Regions from separate parts of the Homo sapiens genome. Here all the other regions are linked to region 1. The links are contacts of gene promoters, found by promoter capture Hi-C in human tissues and cell types (Jung and others, 2019). All regions are on one chromosome and are shown on one strand. The core of a region is centred on a gene start or on the middle of the fragment in contact, and the rest is flanking DNA. Distances in the headings are between cores, read along the strand shown.

Region 1 (3,887 bases), core at 861-3,360:
AATTAGCCGGGCGTGGTGGCGGGCTCCTGTAGTCCCAGCTACTCCAGAGGCTGAGGCAGGAGAATGGTGTGAACCTGGGAGGCGGAGCTTGCGGTGAGCCGAGATCGCGCCACTGCACTCCAGCCTCGGCGACAGAGCGAGACTCCGTCTCAAACAAAAAAACAAAACAACAACAACAACAAAAAACTAATACCAACTTTTTTCCAAAATAAATGTCTCACTCTCTGAAATAATTAACTTTTATACCTTTTTGTGCTCTTAAACAGCAGTTTTCAATCAGTATGGTTACTTGCATGCAAGACTGAAGGAAAGGATATAGTTTTAAAGCCAACAGACCTGTTGAATGAAAAAAAATTCCGTCTTACTTTAAGAAATTATTCATTGCTGAGCCCTGGACATTTTTATCTGGTTTAATACACTGCATAGATGTTTCTCTTTCTGTCCACATGCTTGTCTTTCCAGTCCTTTTAAAAAAATATTATATTTCAGTCCCTCTTGTGAGAGTTGAAAAACTGTCTTTGCCTACATGAACATAAAGTCCTGCTAAGGAAGATTGTGTTACTAAAAACAAAAGGGGCCAGACGTGGGGGCTCACATCTGTCATCCCAGCACTTTGGGAGGCCAAGGTGGGAAGACTGCACAAGCTCAGGAGTTTGAGACCAGCCTGGGCAACATAGCGAGACTCCGTCTATATAAAACAAAAACAAAAACAATTAGCTAGGCATGGTGGCTCATGCTTGTATTCCCAGCTGCTTGGGAGACTGAGGCAGGAGGACTGATTGAGCACAGGAGGTCAAGGCTGCAGTGAGCCATCATCACACCACTGCACTCCAGCCTGGGGACACAGCAAGACCTTATCTCAAAAAACAAAACAAAACAACAACCACAAACCAAACGGTAAGGGTAGGCGGGATGGGGATAAGAAGTGAGCTACCGATAGCTTTCATTTATTCTGTCCTTAGAATTCTGTCCTTAGATGATCTTTTCAAACAAAGTATTTCAAAATATGTATTCCAACAATAATTTCTTTCTTTCTTTCTTTCTTTTTTTTGAGACGGAGTCTCGCTCGTCACCCAGGCTGGAGTGCAGTGGCTCGATCTCCGCTCACTGCAAGCTCCGCCTCCCGGGTTCACAGGATTCTTCTGCCTCAGCCTCCCGAGTAGCTGGGACTACAGGCGCCCGCCACTACGCCCGGCTAATTTTTTGTATTTTTAGTAGAGACGGGGTTTCACCATGTTAGCCAGGATGGTCTCGATCTCCTGACCTCGTGATCTGCCCGCCTCGGCCTCCCAAAGTGCTGGGATTACAGGCGTGAGCCACCTCGCCCGGCCTCCAATAATAATTTCTAAAATCCAATGTGTATACAGGTTTTAAAAACATTTTTTAATGATTGGACCAAAATTTTGACTCCCTTTTTGTATTTTAATATGAGTTATCTATACAATAGTTCAAAGTTGGGACTAGAAAGTAATTAGTCTTTGACTATCTGGACTTTGGTCTTTCTCGTATCTGGGCTTCAATTTTCTCATTTGGAAAATGAAGATTGGATGAGTTGATTTTCTAAGGTCTATTTCTAATGGAGTTGAATGAAAAAGAAAAAGGCAACTTAGGATCTTTGATAACTGGAATAAAAGGAGGCACACGCTTTGAATTACACAGAGATGGATTTGAATCTCATATTTTATTAGCTGCTGGAAGTTAGATTTTATTTTACTTAGCTATAAAGTGGAACTAATTAGGAGCTGTACTGAGGGCTGCTGGGGTTTAAGTGGGAACAATCCTATAATGTTCCCAGGATAATATGTATGCACCTATAAATGGTAGGACCATATTAAGGTCAGACAAACGTAAGGCTGAGCACATGACTTGATCTAGTAATTTCCACTCTGGCACTTGGAGAAGAGAGTGAGCATATCACTGTTCCTTACCAGCAGAGATGTCCCTCTGCCGTGATGAAACTGGAGCTGTCATGATTTATAAAAAGAACACCATCAGGGCAAAGGCGCCACATCTTGGCAAGAAATGCTTCACATAGTTTCCATCGTCACTAAGCTCTCCTTCCCACCCCGCACCCTGCTTCTATTTAAATCCCAGGCACTCCACTGGACCACACTCATTTTAGCCAGTGTCCAGGCTATCAGCAGAGAAAGACAGGTGGGCAGCATGGCTCCGGGCGAAAAGGAAAGCGGGGAGGGCCCAGCCAAGAGCGCCCTCCGGAAGATACGCACAGCCACCCTGGTCATCAGCTTGGCCCGAGGTTGGCAGCAGTGGGCGAATGAGAACAGCATCAGGCAGGCCCAGGAGCCTACAGGCTGGCTGCCGGGAGGGACCCAGGACTCACCTCAAGCTCCTAAACCAATCACACCCCCTACTTCACACCAGAAAGCTCAGAGTGCCCCAAAGTCGCCACCCCGCCTGCCAGAAGGACATGGAGATGGACAAAGCTCAGAGAAAGCCCCTGAGGTTTCTCACATCAAAAAGAAAGAGGTGTCCAAAACGGTGGTCAGCAAGACTTATGAGAGAGGAGGGGACGTGAGCCACCTCAGCCACAGGTACGAGAGGGATGCTGGTGTGCTTGAACCTGGGCAGCCAGAGAATGACATTGACAGAATCCTCCACAGCCACGGCTCCCCAACGCGGAGGAGAAAATGTGCCAACCTGGTGTCTGAGCTAACCAAGGGCTGGAGAGTGATGGAGCAGGAGGAGCCCACATGGAGGAGTGACAGCGTAGACACAGAGGACAGCGGCTATGGAGGAGAGGCTGAGGAGAGGCCCGAGCAGGATGGAGTGCAGGTGGCTGTGGTCAGGATCAAGCGCCCCTTGCCCTCCCAGTAAGTGAATGCATTCTCCCACTCCTTGTGTCAGGATCACTATTGAGCCCCAACCAAGTCTGGGAATCCAGGCAGCAGATGAAGTCCTGCCAGGGTTAGAGTGAGAATCTCAAAGACTGGACAGGCAGTGAGTACTGTAGAGGAGGGATGTCCCTGGGCTGAAGGTCAGTGCCAACCTTAGACATGGACCTTTTGGTCAGGGCCTGCGCTATTTTGTTTCTCGTTTTTGTTTTGAACTGAACACTCAAGTCTTAGCCTCAACAAAGATGAAGCCATCAGAGAGGGAAGCCTGTTTTTCGTGAATTCTTTAAGTCAGTTCTATAATGAGTAACAAATTGGCTTATTTCTTTAGAGATAAGAGTGGTTTCTGATAGACTCATTGGGGAAACTTTTACCTTGTCCCAAATGTCTATGCTATTATCAGGAGATACGTCTGCTTCAATAACACCCATGGAATACAAATCTCTGACTCTAAACAGGTGGAGGCTGCTGTCTAATTTGAAAGCAGGCTCTGAATGAAGTCAGACAGACCCAAGTTCAAATCCTAGTTCTGCCCCTAACTAGTCATTTTTAAAGGTGATTTCATCAGCTGGGCGCAGTGGCTCAGCCTGTAATCTCAGCACTTTGGGAGGCTGAGGAGGGCGGATCACTTGAGGCCAGGAGTTTGAGACCAGCCTGACCAACATTGGTGAAACCCCATATCTACCAAAAAACACACAAAAATAGCTAGGCACAGTGTTGTGCATCTGTAATCCCAGCTACCCGGGAGGCTGAGGCATGAGAATGGCTTTAACCCATGAGGCTGATGTCGGAGTGAGCCAAGATCATGCCACTGTACTCCAGCCTGGGCAACACAGCAAGACTCTGTTTCACATAAAAATTAAAAAAAGCAGATTTCCTCATTTGTAAAATGACAGCAACAGTAAGCTTTTGGGAGAAGTTCTATTGTATTGGGAAACGTAAATGAGATTAGGGCTACCAAACACAGAGCTTGTCACATATGCTCAATACACGAAAACTATTATTATTCACATAGATTTGGTTACTTTGCAACTT
Region 2 (3,887 bases), core at 694-3,193, 160 kb after region 1:
AAAGAGTGATGCTGCCCTTGCAATCAGAGGGGAGGAAGGGATAACTTATGTCAAAAATGGTCATTTGAATTCTGGAGATGTTTTCAGAGGCACACAAAATATAAGGGGAAAGTTGCCTAGCTCACAGCTGGATTGTGGTGCTTTAAGCTCGACAGAATGGCTGGCATTCAAGTTCCGCTTCTGAGGAGTCAGCTACATGTAAATAAGTTGATACCCCAGCAGTAAAATATCTTCAAGAAGGGAAGAGGTATGGAGAGAGAAGAGGAAAGTTACAGACCATGTGTATTTAGGTCAGACATAACAACCCTGCTCTTTGTTTTTCAGCTTGGTAGGCAAAGTGCCAAAACTACTGTTTGTGAAAGGTGTTGAAATGAAGCATGCTAGGGCTCTACACCCATTTGGTTTCTGGGACATTGGTCAGTTGGCATTTTCTTAACTAAACAACAAAAACCATTCAGAGAAGGGCTCTTTCTTCCTTTGGGTTAAGAACAGCAAAAACTACCATTCCTGGTGTTTTTATTTAGTAGCAGGTACTCCAACAAGGTAGGCAGAATGATGACCCCCTAAAAAATATTCTTATATTGATCCCTGGAATCTGTGAATGCTACCTTACTTGGCAAAGAGAAATTAAGGACGCAGATGGAATTAAGGTTGCAGCTGACTGTGAGATGGGAAATTATACTGAATTATCCAGGTGGGCCCATTGTAATCAAAAAGGTCCAAGTGGAAGAGGGAAGCAAGAGCTATCATATGATATCAAGAGTATCATAGTGGCCAGGTGCAGTGGCTCATGCCTATAATCCTAGCACTTTGAGAGGCTGAAGCGGGCGGATCATTTGAGATCAGGAGTTTGGTACCAGCCTGACCAAAATGGTGAAACCCTGTTTCTAGTAAAAATACAAAAAAAAAAAAAAAATTAGCCAGGCATGATGGCACATGCCTGTAATCTCAGCTACTAATGAGGCTGAGGAAGGAAAATCACTTGGACTTGGGAGGTGGTGGTTGCAGTGATCCGAGATTACACCACTGCACTCCAGCCTGGGCAACAGAGTGGGACTCTGTCTCAATAAATAAATAAATAAATAAATAAATAAAGAGTATCATAGTGATATGCTCTAAGGAAGACTTGCTGGGACATTGCTGGCTTTGACGATGGTAGGTGGCCAAGAGCCAGGGAAAGTAGGGGGCCTCTAGAAGCTAGAAAAGGCAAGAAAATGGATTCTCCCACAGGGCCTCTAGAAAGGAGCACAGACCTACTGACACCTCGACTTTAGCCCCAGTGAGATGCATTTTGGACTTCAGAATGCTGGGACTTAATATAATAAATTTGTTTTAAGCCACTAACTTTTGCATGACTTGTCACAACTGCAATAGGAAACATAATACATCTGGTAAACACTTTGCATCCCATAGTGAGGTGGGATTATCATCCACATTTTATTATTATCATCCACATTTTATTGAAAATAAAAATAGAGACTTAGAGAAGTCATATGTTGTTTCAACCTAAGTAGGAAGTGGGAGATATCAGATTTGAGGTGTTTTTTGTGTTTCCTTTATTTTATTTTTTCTTTTTCTTTTTTTGGAGACAGGGTCTCCCTCTGTCACCCAGGCTGAAGTGCAGTGGCACCATCTCGGCTCACTGCAACCTCCACCTCCCGGGTTCATGTGATTCTCCCACCTCAGCCTCCTGAGTAGCTGGGATTACAGGCGCCCACCATGCCCGCCTAATTTTTTTTTTTTTTTTTTTTAGTAGAGACGGGGTTTCACCATATTGGTCAAGCTAGTCTGGAACTCCCGACCTCAGGTGATCCACCTGCCTCAGCCTCCAAAAGTGCTGGAATTACAGGTGTGAGCCACCATGCTAGGCCCAGATTTGAGGATTTTAGGAATGCCTTTGTTCTCACCATTAAATCCTAGCTATTTCTGGTCTGGCTTTTCCCCTACAGAATGTGGTTGGCTCAATTAAAGCAGGTCACCAGGCAACTCCAGGCTGAGTCTTGTTGGAGAATAAAGTAGAATATCTGTCCTGTACAAATAGACCTAAGACAGAAACCAGATTAGCATTGCAGAAAGTCAACCATACCCTATCTGTGTGTTTTAATTGCTAGAGTTTTGATTTGGATAATGTCTTTTTAAAAAATTTTAGCTTTCAAGTATAAAATATTACAGATTTTATCTTTATGAATTATACAGCAAACTCTTCTAAAAAAGCTTGGCTTTCCCAGTGGCATCTTGTCAGCCACATGTTTTCAGCACAAAGGAACGATTTTGCCCCAGTGCAAATTAAAAGTCCCAGGCTCTCACCTCCTTCAACTTGTAAGATTTTAAGAAATCTAAGTTGAAGAGAGCATTATGTAGCATCTGACCTATTAACTGCTTGTAATCTGAGGTGGCTTTTACCCAGGATGAATGACATCCTGAGTGACCTCAAATCTTTTGTGAAAAGAAATGTGTGAATCACAGGCATATACACGTGCCCAGGCCCACACAAACACACTTACAGGCTTTTGCACACAGATAAACAGCTTCAATCATTTCTGAAATGCTTCCTTCTTAGTATAACCTTCAGGCATATTACATAAACTTTTTGCAGACAACTCTAGGAGAACAAACAAGAAAAACTTATGTCACAATTATCGAAAGATAGGCTTCTTCCATGTTATTGCAAACAGCTGTACAACCATTTGTTAAGCATCTGTTTCCTAGAAACGTTTATTCAATAAAACTCTTCCTCTCTCCTTTTTGTCTCAAGTTTAAGGTCACGCTATCAAAATATGTTAGTAAAGAAACTCAGTTTTGTTACTGGATATATTGTCTGCATCTGTCAGAGTTCAAAAGCAGTGCTTTTTAATGCTGCAAGCTTTAATACCTATAGAATTTTACAAAAAGCTAAATATCCTATCTGGTTTGGAGGATATCAATAATACTGTATACGGGTGGCTCACACTTGTAATCCCAGCACTTTGGGAGGCCGAGGCGGGTGGATTACTTGAGGTCAGGAGTTTGAGACCAGCTTGGACAACATGGTGAAATCCTGTCTTTCCCTGTGAAAGCCAAGACCCCTGACTTCAAGCATCGTGGCTTATCCCTTCACCCATAGGAGTCATAATGCTTTTGACATTTTTGCCCCTGACACATTTTTAAAAGGTGTTTGAAAATATATTTAAAGATTAGTTAGGGGTTTCAAAAGTATACTTGGTTTGTGGCCAAGTGCTATGGCACACAGTTAATAGACGGTATACACCTGCTTTTTAAAAAGTTTTCCCATTTAATCCCTGCAAGTGTTCAGGTTTCTTCTGTTTTTTGTTTGTTTGTTTGTTTGTTTTTTGAGATGGAGTCTCACTCTGTTGCCCAGGCTGGAGTGCAGTGGCACTATCTCGGCTCACTGCAACAACCGCCTCCTGGGTTTAAGCGAGTCTCCTGCCTCAGCCTCCCGAGTAGCTGGGACTACAGGCATGCACCACCACGCCCAGCTAATTTTTATATTTTTAGTAGAGAGGGGGTTTCACCATGTTGGCTAGGCTGGTCTTGAACTGCTGACCTCAAGTGATCCACCCGCCTCAGCCTCCCAAATTACTGGGATTATAGGTGTGAGCCACTGTGCCCGGCCCTGTTCTTGATTTTTAAAGCAATTTTACAGACTTGCTTTCTAAGACATCTTAAAGTACTCTTTATTAAAATTTAAAGCTCTATTCAAACCTTTCTTTTTAAGGGAGAATTACACGTTCCATATTAAAAGTTTTGGCAATATAGAAAAGCAACAAAAACAAAATAACAATCACCCATCATAAACCCATCACCCAAAGGGAGCTATTATTAAATAATACACACTCTCATTCACTTAATACACCTCTCATAACTGATTCTTGAAATACGTTGTGGAG
Region 3 (3,887 bases), core at 842-3,341, 150 kb before region 1:
AGACAGGAGACAAAGAGCCTTAGATCAAGAACCTGTCCAATTCTTTCTCCATGTCAGCTTGCAGGAGGGAAATAAACTTGACATAAAAAATTACCCCAGTGCTGCTCTCCCAATAGGATGCTGACATTTCCCCACATTGCCCATAACATTCTTATGGCAGCCACATAAAACACTAGAACAAAATGTTCTGAAGATCAAACTAGCTAGGCTTGCTGACATTGTGTTATTGTGTATGCATATGAGTGCATGTGTGTGTATTATTAAGGTATTGTTTAACCTAAAGCAAATTTAAATCCATAAAATCAAGGCAAAGCACCACAAACAGCTAAAATTGGAAGTAGAATTTGCCATAATCATCATCTTCAGAATTCTCCAGCTTGGAATATGTTGTTTATTAGTTTGTTTAAATTACAAACAAATTCTATCTGAGCAGGTGCTAGAGAAAGAGGCTCAGCTACTTACAGTGTGGCTATTCTCAGATTTCAAGGGCCCTAAACACATGCACAACCTAAGCAGAGAAGAATTCATCACCATTACTGCTCCAACCCACTAATATGAATCATGTAAATTGGAAGGTAATCAGAACTTTTTCTCCAGCCATTAATGGGATAAACGCATGTGCTGAATTGCCCGAAGAGACGAATGAACATACAGCATGAGAAATGTTAGAACACTTTAGTCCCAAATTTATGCTTCCCTGTGTATCCATCCATTCCTGAAGCGAGATGTCAAGACAAACATGTCAATCTTTCTTGGAAGCAGCAGCCAGCAGCACTGTGAGCATCCAGTAGTCTAATCTGTTCAAACTGACCATGAAACAAAGCCTCTGGGGCTTCTCCCAGGCCCATGTCCTAAGCCAGTCTCCTCTCCATTAGTGATCACATTTCCCCCATCTGTGAAATCGAAAAAACCTGTCATTTTGCTCTGCGAGAATGAGATGATGATTAATTATTTACTATCTGTCAAAGGAGCATCAACTACTCTGGGGAAAATATCCAAAACTGTTATGAATAGTAATATACAGAAAAGTACCCTCCTGCTTTTTTCTTTCTTGGCCAGTTGGCAGCTACTGAAAGATTAAGGGCTTCAGGAAATATTGCCCCAAAGCCCCAGCATTCCAAAGATGTACAGTCACAGCACAAAATATTTCATCTGGTTTTTGGTGTGAATACAAATTCTATCTTATTCTCTTTCTCTCCGAAAGACCCAATGAATGATGGATCCTTTGTCTCTAGAAATAGAACATCCCCAAGTGTGTCAAGCAGTTATTTAGGCATGGTTTTTAGAAATCGTAGAGAAACCTTTTAATAGCTTCAGAGTGTTTATTAAACTTCCCACCATCAGTAAGCTTAGATTCTCATGGGCATAGAATGCTTCAGGAGAATAAGTTGGAGATAGGAGTATGCCCCATGACTGCTAAATGACCTCTCCTCTTTTACAGTCTGACACCTGCTGTATTAGTGTGATACACAGTGTGGAAGGCTCACAGGGCTTAGACAGAGGCTGTTTGAACTGCTTTATGTGTGACCACAGACTCCAAAAGACACACTGCCTCACCTACTCAATTCATGTTTAAATCTGGGTTTCTTTTTTTTAAAGAAAAGTTTAGGTTCACAGGAAAATTGAGCAGAAAGTATAGAGTCCCCATATACCCCTGTCTTCACCTGCCCCCTGCCCTCCCCTCCACACACACAGTATTCCTCACTATCAACATCTCCACCAGAGTAGTATAGTTGTTACAGTCAGTGAACCTACACTGATGTCATTATATCCAAAGTCTTTCATTAACCTTAGGTTTCACTCTCGATCTTATACATTCTGTACGTTTAGATAAATGTATAATGACATGTACTCCCCAGTATAGTATGAGAATACTTTCACTGCCCTAAAAATCCCCTAGAAAGAAATCTCCCTGTTCATCCTCACTAACCCCTGCCAACCACTGATTGTTTTCGTGTCTCTAGGGTTTTGCCTTTTCCAGAACATCTCATAGTTGGAGTCATACAGTATGTTGCTTTTTCAGATTGGCTTCTCCTGAAGTGAGATGTCAAGTAAGATTCTTTTAATGTTCTTCTATTTCTCTTCATGGCCTGATAGTTTATTTATTTTTAGTGCTGAGTAATATGCCATTGTCTAGATGTCCCACATTTATCCATTCACCTACTGAAGGACATTTTGGTTGCTTCCAAGTTTTGGCAACTATCAATAAAACTGCTATAAACATCCATGTGCGGGTTTTGGGTAGACATGAGTTTTAACTTATAAGTACCAAGGAGTGTGATTGCTGGATTGTATGGTAAGACTATGTTAAGAAACTGCCACACTGTCTTCCAAAATAGCCCTCATTTCTTTCTTTATCCGGGGGAAAATTGTCTTGGGGCTCCAAATTTCTCCTGTTTATTACACCATCATACTCAAAGAATGCCTCTAAACAGAGGCAGGCCTCTGGCTGGGACACTTCTAATATGCTTTGGCTCTGTCTCCACCCAAATCTCATGCCAAAATGTAATTCCCAATGTTGAGGGAGAAACCTGCTGGAAGGTGACTGGATTATGAGGGTGGATTTTCCCTTTGCTGTTTCTCATGATAGTGAGTTCTCATGACATCTGGTTGTTCCCCATGGTTCTCTCTCCTGCTCCGCATGTGAAGAAGGTACTTGCTTTCCCTTTGCCCTTCTGCCGTGATTGTAAGTTTCCTGAGGCCTCCCAACCATGCTTTCTGTATAGCCTGTGGAATTGTGAGTCAATTAAACCTCCTTTCTTTGTAAATTACCTAGTCTCACCTAGTTCTCTATAGTAGTGTGAGAACAGACCAATACAATTTCCAATTCCTTCCTTCCTTATCCCATCTCTGAGCAAGGTCTCTGGAAGAAGATGCCAGCAATGAACCATGCACCACTAATTAGGTGGTCAAAAATCATATCCAGAAGCTTCCATCATCTGTTTCATGTCAAGAAGAAGCCACATCCCAATCACAGTTCAGTCCGTGTGTTGTATTTACTGGCAGGAGTTTTTCCTATACCCAAACCAACCTTTCAGAGGTTAAGATTTGCAAAAATTCTTCATCAATTTGCCTGTTGGGCTGTCAGGTAACTCACCCATTAGTGGCTGCTTATCGTCCATCAAGCTCTTCAGGATTTTCTCAGTTTGAGAAACACATTGCTGTCATCAGCTACATTGAAGGGTCTGGAGCTAGAAAAAATCTCCAGTTCACTATCTATGGATGCAAGCTTCCCTATGTTCACAAATTCTTAATTGAATAAATAAATAGATGAACAGAGTCACTCTGCATCATCACCCACAACGCACAGATGTGGATATGTCTTCCCTTTAGAGTGGATACACATGCATTCTCTTATGCACTCCAAGAAGCTCCACTGAGCCTGACAGGCTCACGAACAAGGACAAAGTAATAAATTATTGTCACTTAGACCTGCCCAAGATTCTGTTAAACACAAATCATTGCCAGAAAATGTCAACATGTTAATTCCACAGTCTAAAGAGATAAAGTAGTAAACCTGGGAGTATTCACAGTAATAATACACTGTAGGTTATAATGTCCACATCATAATTAAATGGCCCCTGATTATCCACAAACAAAGCAAGCTATAACTCTGGAAATCAGGATGAGTAAACTTTAATTCTTTGGTTGGCCTGGATTGTGAAAATGTAAGGTACAATTGTATTTGATGAGAATTGTTTTGAGAACTATCTTGTTGACACAAGTTAAAAAGTCCTGTGTTAAAATTGCACTTGTGAATAACATCTAGAAGGTTATAGCACATGGCATCAGTCAGGGGCCTAACAGTAACCATTAGGCACAAACTAGGCATTGATGAGATCTCAGTAATGAATTGCTATGTACAGCTTAGAGCAGAGTGCAGTAGC

Evidence for each region. The method cuts DNA at HindIII sites, captures the fragments that hold promoters and counts their contacts. A contact is called where the count stands out against the background at its distance.
Region 2: a fragment that was not itself captured here is called in contact with the fragment with the promoter of ABRA in region 1 in 1 of the 25 tissues and cell types used here (hippocampus).
Region 3: a contact is called between a fragment that was not itself captured here and the fragment with the promoter of ABRA in region 1, in 1 of the 25 tissues and cell types used here (hippocampus).

The regions. Positions count from the first base shown.
Region 1 is chr8:106,768,467-106,772,353 of GRCh38, reverse strand. ABRA (actin binding Rho activating protein) reads left to right here and starts at 2,110. Exons shown (of 2, transcript NM_139166.5): 1 at 2,110-2,831. The coding sequence starts at 2,164. The HindIII fragment of the contact is 12,258 bases long and covers 1-3,887 here.
Region 2 is chr8:106,603,497-106,607,383 of GRCh38, reverse strand. The region is part of intron 3 of OXR1 (oxidation resistance 1); the gene reads right to left. All of the region lies in intron 1 of OXR1-AS1 (OXR1 antisense RNA 1), which reads left to right. Among named protein-coding and RNA genes, the nearest start is that of OXR1-AS1, 52 kb to the left of the region's middle. The HindIII fragment of the contact is 6,770 bases long and covers 1-3,887 here.
Region 3 is chr8:106,922,151-106,926,037 of GRCh38, reverse strand. No RefSeq gene overlaps it. Among named protein-coding and RNA genes, the nearest start is that of ABRA, 150 kb to the right of the region's middle. The HindIII fragment of the contact is 3,365 bases long and covers 409-3,773 here.